2 separate regions of the Homo sapiens genome follow, and region 2 is linked to region 1. The links are contacts of gene promoters, found by promoter capture Hi-C in human tissues and cell types (Jung and others, 2019). All regions are on one chromosome and are shown on one strand. Each heading gives the region's core, a stretch centred on a gene start or on the middle of the fragment in contact. The rest is flanking DNA. Distances are from core to core; before and after follow the strand shown.

Region 1 (3,428 bases), core at 66-2,565:
TGTCTTACAAGAGGATTGTAAAATGTGCCAATTAGCACTCTGTAGCTAGGATTGTAAAACGCACCAATCAGCACTCTGTAGCTAGCTAGAGGTTTGTAAAATGAACCAATCAGCACTCTGTAAAATGGACCAAACAGCAGGACATGGGCGGTGACCCCAGGAAATAAAAGCTGGCCACCCCAGCCAGCAGCAGCAACGTGCTCGGGTCCCCTTCCATGCTGTGGAAGCTTTGTTCTTTCGCTCTTCACAATACATCTTGCTGCTGCTCACTCGCTCACTGACTCACTCTTTGTGTCCGTGCCACCTTTAAGAGCTGTAACACTCACTGCAAAAATTCCCAGCTTCATTCTGGAAGTCAGCGAGACCAAGAACCCACCAGAAGGAACCAACTCCAGACACAGTAGGATTTGATGAATCCTAAAATGTCTTCCAACTCCTGAGATCTATGATCTTCCACATCAAACAGGCACTTCACAATTTCCCTGTTCTTTGCCAAAGAAAGCTGTCCATTTGCTCCAGTCTCTCTCTCATTCTGTCTCTCTCTCTCTTCCCCCAGCCTTCCTCCCTCTCTTGTGCTATTCTCTGGTCCAGGGTTCTGTTCTTTTTTTTTTTTTTTTTTTTGAGACGGAGTCTTTCTCTGTCACCCAGGCTGGAGTGCAGTGGCGCGATCTCGGCTCACTGCAAGCTCCACCTCCCGGGTTCACGCCATTCTCCTGCCTCAATCTCCCGAGTAGCTGGGATTACAGTCGCCTGCCACCACGCTTGGCTAATTTTTTGTATTTTTAGTAGAGACTGGGTTTCACCGTGTTAGCCAGGATGGTCTCGATCTCCTGACCTTGTGATCTGCCCGCCTCGGCCTCCCAAAGTGCTGGAATTACAGGCTTGAGCCACCGCGCCCGACCTCCAGGGTGCTATTCTACTAGGAAATCTTAATCTGCAACATCTCTTGGCTTTACCCCTTTCATTCACTGTTTCCTGTTTTCCGTGTACCCTCTTGATTTCTTTCCAGGCCTTCTCTTTCTCAGACTCACACACTCCTTCCATTCCACTCCCCACCTTGCCTTCTTCGTGTACATCTCCTTTCTCCCTCTCTTTCTTTGCTCCCCCTACTTCATTTTCCGTCCCCGCATCCCCCGATGGTCTCCCCCTCCTTCCCGCTCTCTGTCTTACCCTAGTTTGGAAATGCAGCAGACCTCTAAACCTGCCAGCATTGGATGCAAGAGGCTGTCATTCTACGGTAGGAGGAGCTTCTATTGGTCGGGCTGGAGGCGGGTACCGAGCTGAGTATAAAAGGTGGGGCCGGAGGCGGCGAGCTGAGCGGCTCTGACAGGACGGGTCGCAGGGGGTCGCCTGGCCGGAGCTGGGCTCCGAGAATCCCGGGTGCCAGCACCAGAGCAGCGGCTCTCCGCACTAACTCTCCTCTCCTGGTCAGCTGTAACCCCTGCCGCAGAGCCCGGCAACTTTCAGCTGTCGCCCGCGGAGCCCCGAGGGCCACTCGCCTCACCTGTGCGTGCAGCGCCTCGCGCGCCCTGTCCGGCTGCGGAGATGAGCGAGGTGAGCGGTGCGGCCCCCGGCGCTGTCGGCAGGGCTGCGGCGGGGAGGGTGCTGCGGCTCGGGATCCCAGGGAGGCGAGGGAGAGCGAGGCAGACCGGAGCCGCGAAGAACCCTCCAGGGGCGCCCCACTGCCCTCCTAGGAAAGCTCCCACCTCGGGGCGCTGGGAAACGATTGGAAGACGGGGTGCTTTCAGTCTCCCTACTGTGGACGGCGCTTTTGGGGGTAATTGGAATCGGCTGTAGAGTCCGGAAGCGGGGATGCTGAGCTCTCAGGTGGTAGGTCATCCCCTCTGGATACTGCCCCCTGCATCTGTCTTACTGCCCGAGATTATTCTGGCTCCCCTTACCCCCCTCACTTCGCTTCTGTCCTCTCTCTCCTAGGGATGTAAGGCACTCACATTCCTTCTGTAGCATCTAACAAGAACTCCATCCCTGGCCCCCGGGGAGGGCCACTGTGCCCCTTTTAGAAAGGTGGCATCCTGCCCTCCACTCATTCAGTCAGGAACGTTGGAGGGACGTGTTCCGGTATTTAGAAGCCCCTGCCAGTTGCTGGGGAGATTTCCCCTTCAAGAATAGACCTCCCTCTGCAGTGCTTGTTACAAACTAGGTCTTCCGGCAGGCTCTGTGGTGTTCACCGTGGCCAGACCCAGGCCATTAACTGATTTACTGTTTTCAAAGAACACTGTTCATGGGGTGGGGGAGTGGGGGGTCAAAGCAGAGACTTTGGAAAGACGTCTCCTATTGTCTATTTGTAGGCACAGTCTCATCTCCAGAAACAAGGATCAGCCTTTCCAAGTGAAGTCAGTCTGGTTAGTGGCATCACAAGCTTGCCCTCTGCAACCTCTTTCCTAGTACCCACATCGTTGTGTTAAATCCAACTCCTCTGCTATATGTCAGATATGTATGTAGGCCAGCTACTTACCTGTGATGTAGCCTTAGGCAAAGTACAAAACCTTTGTTTCATTTTTTGTCTGTAAAATGGGGATAATACTGGTTGTTGTAATAATTAAATGAGATAATATATGCCAAATACTTGAAACAGGACCTGGCACTCAATCTATATTAGCTATTATCTTTCTGTTTCTTTTTTCTTCCTCTCCCATTAGAGTATTACAGAAATTTAACAGAAGAATTCCCAAAGACATTAGATTACTGAAGGAATAGGACCCTGGAGCCTGGGTTCCAGTTTAGATACTAAAAATGAAGATCTCTATGACTCCTACCAAAAGTTGTCACCCAGGGAGCTAATTAGTGCCAACTGCTGTGTTGTCTTGGTTGCCGTGTTCACTAATTTTATCCTGGAAAATTCGGCTAGTCTGGGGGCTGCAGATGAACCAAAGTGGTTTCCAGTCCCTCAGCTGGTTGTGACTCTGATGATGGCAATCTTTCAGAAAGAAAAGAAAAAAACGCATCAACCTCCTCTTTCACCTCTAATGTGGGAAGAGAGGTTTTCTTTGCCCCTTTTCACTGAGGTCTAGGGTTCATACTACTCCTCCCACCCCGAGCATTTCTAAATCTGAAAGTTGTAATCCAAGCCATCCCCTGGGAGTTTGTGATCTGAAGGCTATGCCAACGTGAGGATTTGCAGTTAGCCTGTGTTTTCTGGGGTAAGTGCACAGCCCCTTTGTAGGACACACTACAGGGGCTGGCATTTAGAGTGGTATTTGGTGGAATGAGAAGCCTGTTTTGTAGCAAAGGAAACAATTCGGTGTTTGAGGAGAAAGCCAAGTCCGCTCCCTCCTGACTCAGCAGCTGAATTTGGTTAGCCTTCATCAGGGGCTCAGTAGAATGATGAGAGAAGGATCCACGGATGGAGACTATCAGTGTACCCAAGTCTGCCCAGCCTCCTAGGCTATCAGAGCAAACTGGTTTTA
Region 2 (3,934 bases), core at 1,426-3,925, 50 kb before region 1:
GCACATAATAAAGCTATATAAGTGTTATGTATTATTAAAAAGATATTCTATGCACACTGACTATGAACCATGAAAAAAAAAAAGGTATTCTAGGAGACATAGAGTGAGATTCATGATGTCTGTCATCAGAAAGTTTAGATCTTCCTTTTCCCCATCTAAGAGTCCTCTTCCTGGTTATAGTGGAGATTAGGAAATTAACAAAGTATGGAATGGTGAGTTAGAAAATCTATAGGGAGAGGCTAACTCCTTGCTATCTTTTGGGGGATCCCAAGGGAATAACCATGTGGCTCTGAACTATTTCTTACTTCTCAGATGTGGACCCTCCAAAGGACACAATTGTGAAGAACATTACCCTGAACTTTGGGCCCCAACACCCAGCAGCGCATGGTGTCCTGCGACTAGTGATGGAATTGAGTGGGGAGATGGTGCGGAAGTGTGATCCTCACATCGGGCTCCTGCACCGAGGCACTGAGAAGCTCATTGAATACAAGACCTATCTTCAGGTGTGGGGGGTGAACAGGAGCCTTTTGGCGGGATCTGGGGTTGCTTTAGCCTGGGGCTTTGCCAGTTTGCTGCCCTTAAAACGTGAGGGGAGGAAGGTGTTGAGAGGAGTAACCCGTTGAGATTACTCTTGGTTGGGTGGATGGAGGGAAGTGGCAGGGGATGCTTGAGTCATTAGGATTTGGTTTATTTAGCAGCAGTGCTTTGAAGCTGGAGCTATACTCAGCTTTTCTCTGGCTGACTTTTTGGCAGGCCCCTTTGCCATTACTTGAGTGCCTCAGTTTCCCTGCTCTTACGTTAGACTAGTGCGTCAAAGCCAGTGTCCCTAGGGGCAGGGAAAGAGAAAAGACATTAGCTCGCTAAGTTTAACAGCTGATTCTTGTATCTTCCAGCTGTCTACGTTTGTTTTCAAAACATTCAATGAGTCACAGCAACTCAGAGAGGGTTTATGACAGTTTGCCATTTTTAGGAGAACTGTATAACCCAAATGATGAAGGTCAGATTTGAAGGAGTTGGATCTCTAATAGGAATCTGAAGTTTTTTTCTTACTGTCATGAAGAAAGGTCCTGATAACAGGATGGTAGGATTAGGATTTAGATCCAGCCCAGTGTCGGGGTGAACAGTGACTAGAATGTGATTCCCCAAGAGAGCCTCGGCGATGACAGTTTCTGGTCCTGGAGTCTATGGGTTAACCCCTGTAGCATTAGCCCCCGTCACAGTGACATCAGAATAAGAACAGGCTGTCCCAGCTAGTAGCGTCTTAGCTCCACCCTCTTCCTGGAAGCTGAAGCTGGTTCAGCAGACAGCTAGGACTTGGCTTTTTGGCATTCTGGAGGAAGGACCATTTCTACCTGATGCTCTGTCTTCCTTAAATACCTCACTCTGGCCGGGCTCACGCCTGTAATCCCAGCACTTTGGGAGGTCGAAGCAGGTGGATTACTTGAGGTCAGGAGTTTGAGACCAGCCTGGCCAACAAGGTGAAACCCCATCTCTACTAAAAATACAAAAATTAGCCAGACGTGGTGGTGTGCGCCTGTAGGAGAATCACTTGAACCTGGGAGGCAGAGGTTGCAGTGAGCCAAGATGGTGCTACTGCACTCCAGCGCCTGGGCAACAGAGCAAGACTGTGTCTCAAAAAAAAAAAAGATTAAAAAAAAAAACCCTCCCAGATACTCTTAAGACTGATTGCCTTTCTCCTTCAGTATCTGAAGTTTTTTGTTTGTTTTGTTTTTTTCCCTACGGAGTCTCGCTCTGTCGCCCAGGCTGGAGTGCAGTGGCGTGATCTTGGCTCACTGCAACCTCTGCCTCCCGAGTTTAAGCAATTCTGTTTCAGCCCCCAGAGTAGCCAGGATTATAGGCACGCACCACCATGCCTGGCTAATTTTTTTTTTTTTTTTTTTTTTTTTGAGACGGAGTTTCACTCTTGTTGCCCAGGCTGGAGTGCAATAGTGTGATCTTGGCTCACTGCAAACTCCACCTCCCAGGTTCAAGCGAGTCTCGTTCCTCAGCCTCCCAAATAGCTGGGATTACAGGTACTCACCACCACGCCCAGCTAATTTCTATATTTTTAGTAGAGATGGGGTTTCACCATGTTGGCCAGGCTGGTCTCAAACTCCTGACCTCATGAGCCACCCTGACTTGGCCTCCCAAAGTGCTGGGATTACAGGTGTGAGCCACCGCGCCTGACCAGTATGTCAGTTTTTTAAATTTTTATTATTTTTTGAGATGGAGTTTTGCTCTTGTTGCCTAGGCTAGAATGCAGTGGCATAGTCTTGTCTCACTGCAACCTCTGCTTCCTGGGTTCAAGTGATTTTCCTGCCTCAGCCTCCCAAGTAGCTGGGATTACAGGCATGCACCACCACGCCCTGCTAATTTTGTATTTTTAGTAGAGAAGGGGTTTCTCCATGTTGGTCAGGCTGGTCTCAAACTCCTGACCTCAGGTGATCTACCCGCCTCGGCCTCCCAAAGTGTTGGGATTACAGGCGTGAGCCACGTGCCCGGCCAAGGACTCTTGACAGTGGTATCCTGGAGCTAGCTCATACGGGCTTGCAAGAGTGCAGTTGTTAAATTTTCAGGAGTTTTGTGAGCCAGTTGTTGAACATAGCCATTGTCAGAAATTAATTTATATAAGCTTATGATTTAATACATTATATTAAAAGCAAAGGTAAGATTAAATATTCAAAGCTCATCACTTCATTATTTTACCACATTTTACTATGCTCTGCCTTTGAGGTATTTGCTTTGAATGTGTCTGTATGGTGGAAATACTGTATAATGGTGTGGTATTCTTCCCAATGCTGCATTCAGTTACATGATATTGGTAACTTAAAATTGGCCATTGTGGGAGTATTTTTACCATGGAAATTGGCAAACATGACAAATCAGAGTCCTCCCTCACTTTGGAGAGCCAGTTTTTAAACATTTACTAGAATACTACTGGTTTTTGGGATATTTTTACCTGCCTTGTTGGGGCTCCTGAGACTAGAAAGGCTTATACAGCACCAACTTCTGGTGCCGACTGAGAGCAAGGCTTCAGGCAGCCAGACTGTGGGCTCCTGAGCCTGTTAGATGTGACCCACATTCCTCCCTCTTCCCAGGCCCTTCCATACTTTGACCGGCTAGACTATGTGTCCATGATGTGTAACGAACAGGCCTATTCTCTAGCTGTGGAGAAGTTGCTAAACATCCGGCCTCCTCCTCGGGCACAGTGGATCCGAGGTATGTCCCCCCAACTTTTTCTGTGGCCCACTGTGAGCATAGCATAGTGCCTTTTCCACCACTTCCCCGTTGAACCCAAGCTTAGTGTTCAGACCCCAGGCTCTGCCCAGACCTCTCTGTCCGCCTCAGTGCTTGGCTCCTATATCCTGTCTTCTCCTTGTCTTCACAGTGCTGTTTGGAGAAATCACACGTTTGTTGAACCACATCATGGCTGTGACCACACATGCCCTGGACCTTGGGGCCATGACCCCTTTCTTCTGGCTGTTTGAAGAAAGGGAGAAGGTAAGAGTGGGAGGAAAGGATAGGAATAGGGAAGGAAGTGCAGGAAGTAGAGAAGGTATAAAGGAGACAGGAGATTAAAAGAAGAGAGAGAACATGGGAGAACATTTAGAGGGGGAAGGTATGTTTAACTTGGGTTATATTTGTAGAAACTATATCATGAGGGGTTGGTTGGGCACAAGAAGGCAGAAAGTGGGGGAGTAGGCCATCATAGGACCTGGGGGCCTGGGACTTTGACACTAATTCCCAGCACGTTCTATGAAGATGTTTGAGTTCTACGAGCGAGTGTCTGGAGCCCGAATGCATGCTGCTTATATCCGGCCAGGAGGAGTGCACCAGGTGAGCAGGTCCCCGGCTTCCCCAAATGTCCAGCCCAGGCCTATTTTCCCTGTGGCCACTGGAGGGCAGTGCTGGATGATGGAAACTCCAAACCTGT

What was found. The method cuts DNA at HindIII sites, captures the fragments that hold promoters and counts their contacts. A contact is called where the count stands out against the background at its distance.
Region 2: a contact is called between a fragment that was not itself captured here and the fragment with the promoter of PCP4L1 in region 1, in 1 of the 25 tissues and cell types used here (liver).

Annotation. Positions count from the first base shown.
Region 1 is chr1:161,257,430-161,260,857 of GRCh38, forward strand. It overlaps PCP4L1 (Purkinje cell protein 4 like 1), which reads left to right and starts at 1,316. Exons shown (of 3, transcript NM_001102566.2): 1 at 1,316-1,554. The coding sequence starts at 1,546. RefSeq lists an enhancer at 1,684-2,184. The HindIII fragment of the contact is 11,379 bases long and covers 1-3,428 here.
Region 2 is chr1:161,206,095-161,210,028 of GRCh38, forward strand. It overlaps NDUFS2 (NADH:ubiquinone oxidoreductase core subunit S2), which reads left to right. Exons shown (of 14, transcript NM_001377299.1): 3 at 313-503; 4 at 3,099-3,219; 5 at 3,389-3,501; 6 at 3,763-3,837. Among named protein-coding and RNA genes, the nearest start is that of NDUFS2, 5.7 kb to the left of the region's middle. The HindIII fragment of the contact is 3,202 bases long and covers 1,075-3,934 here.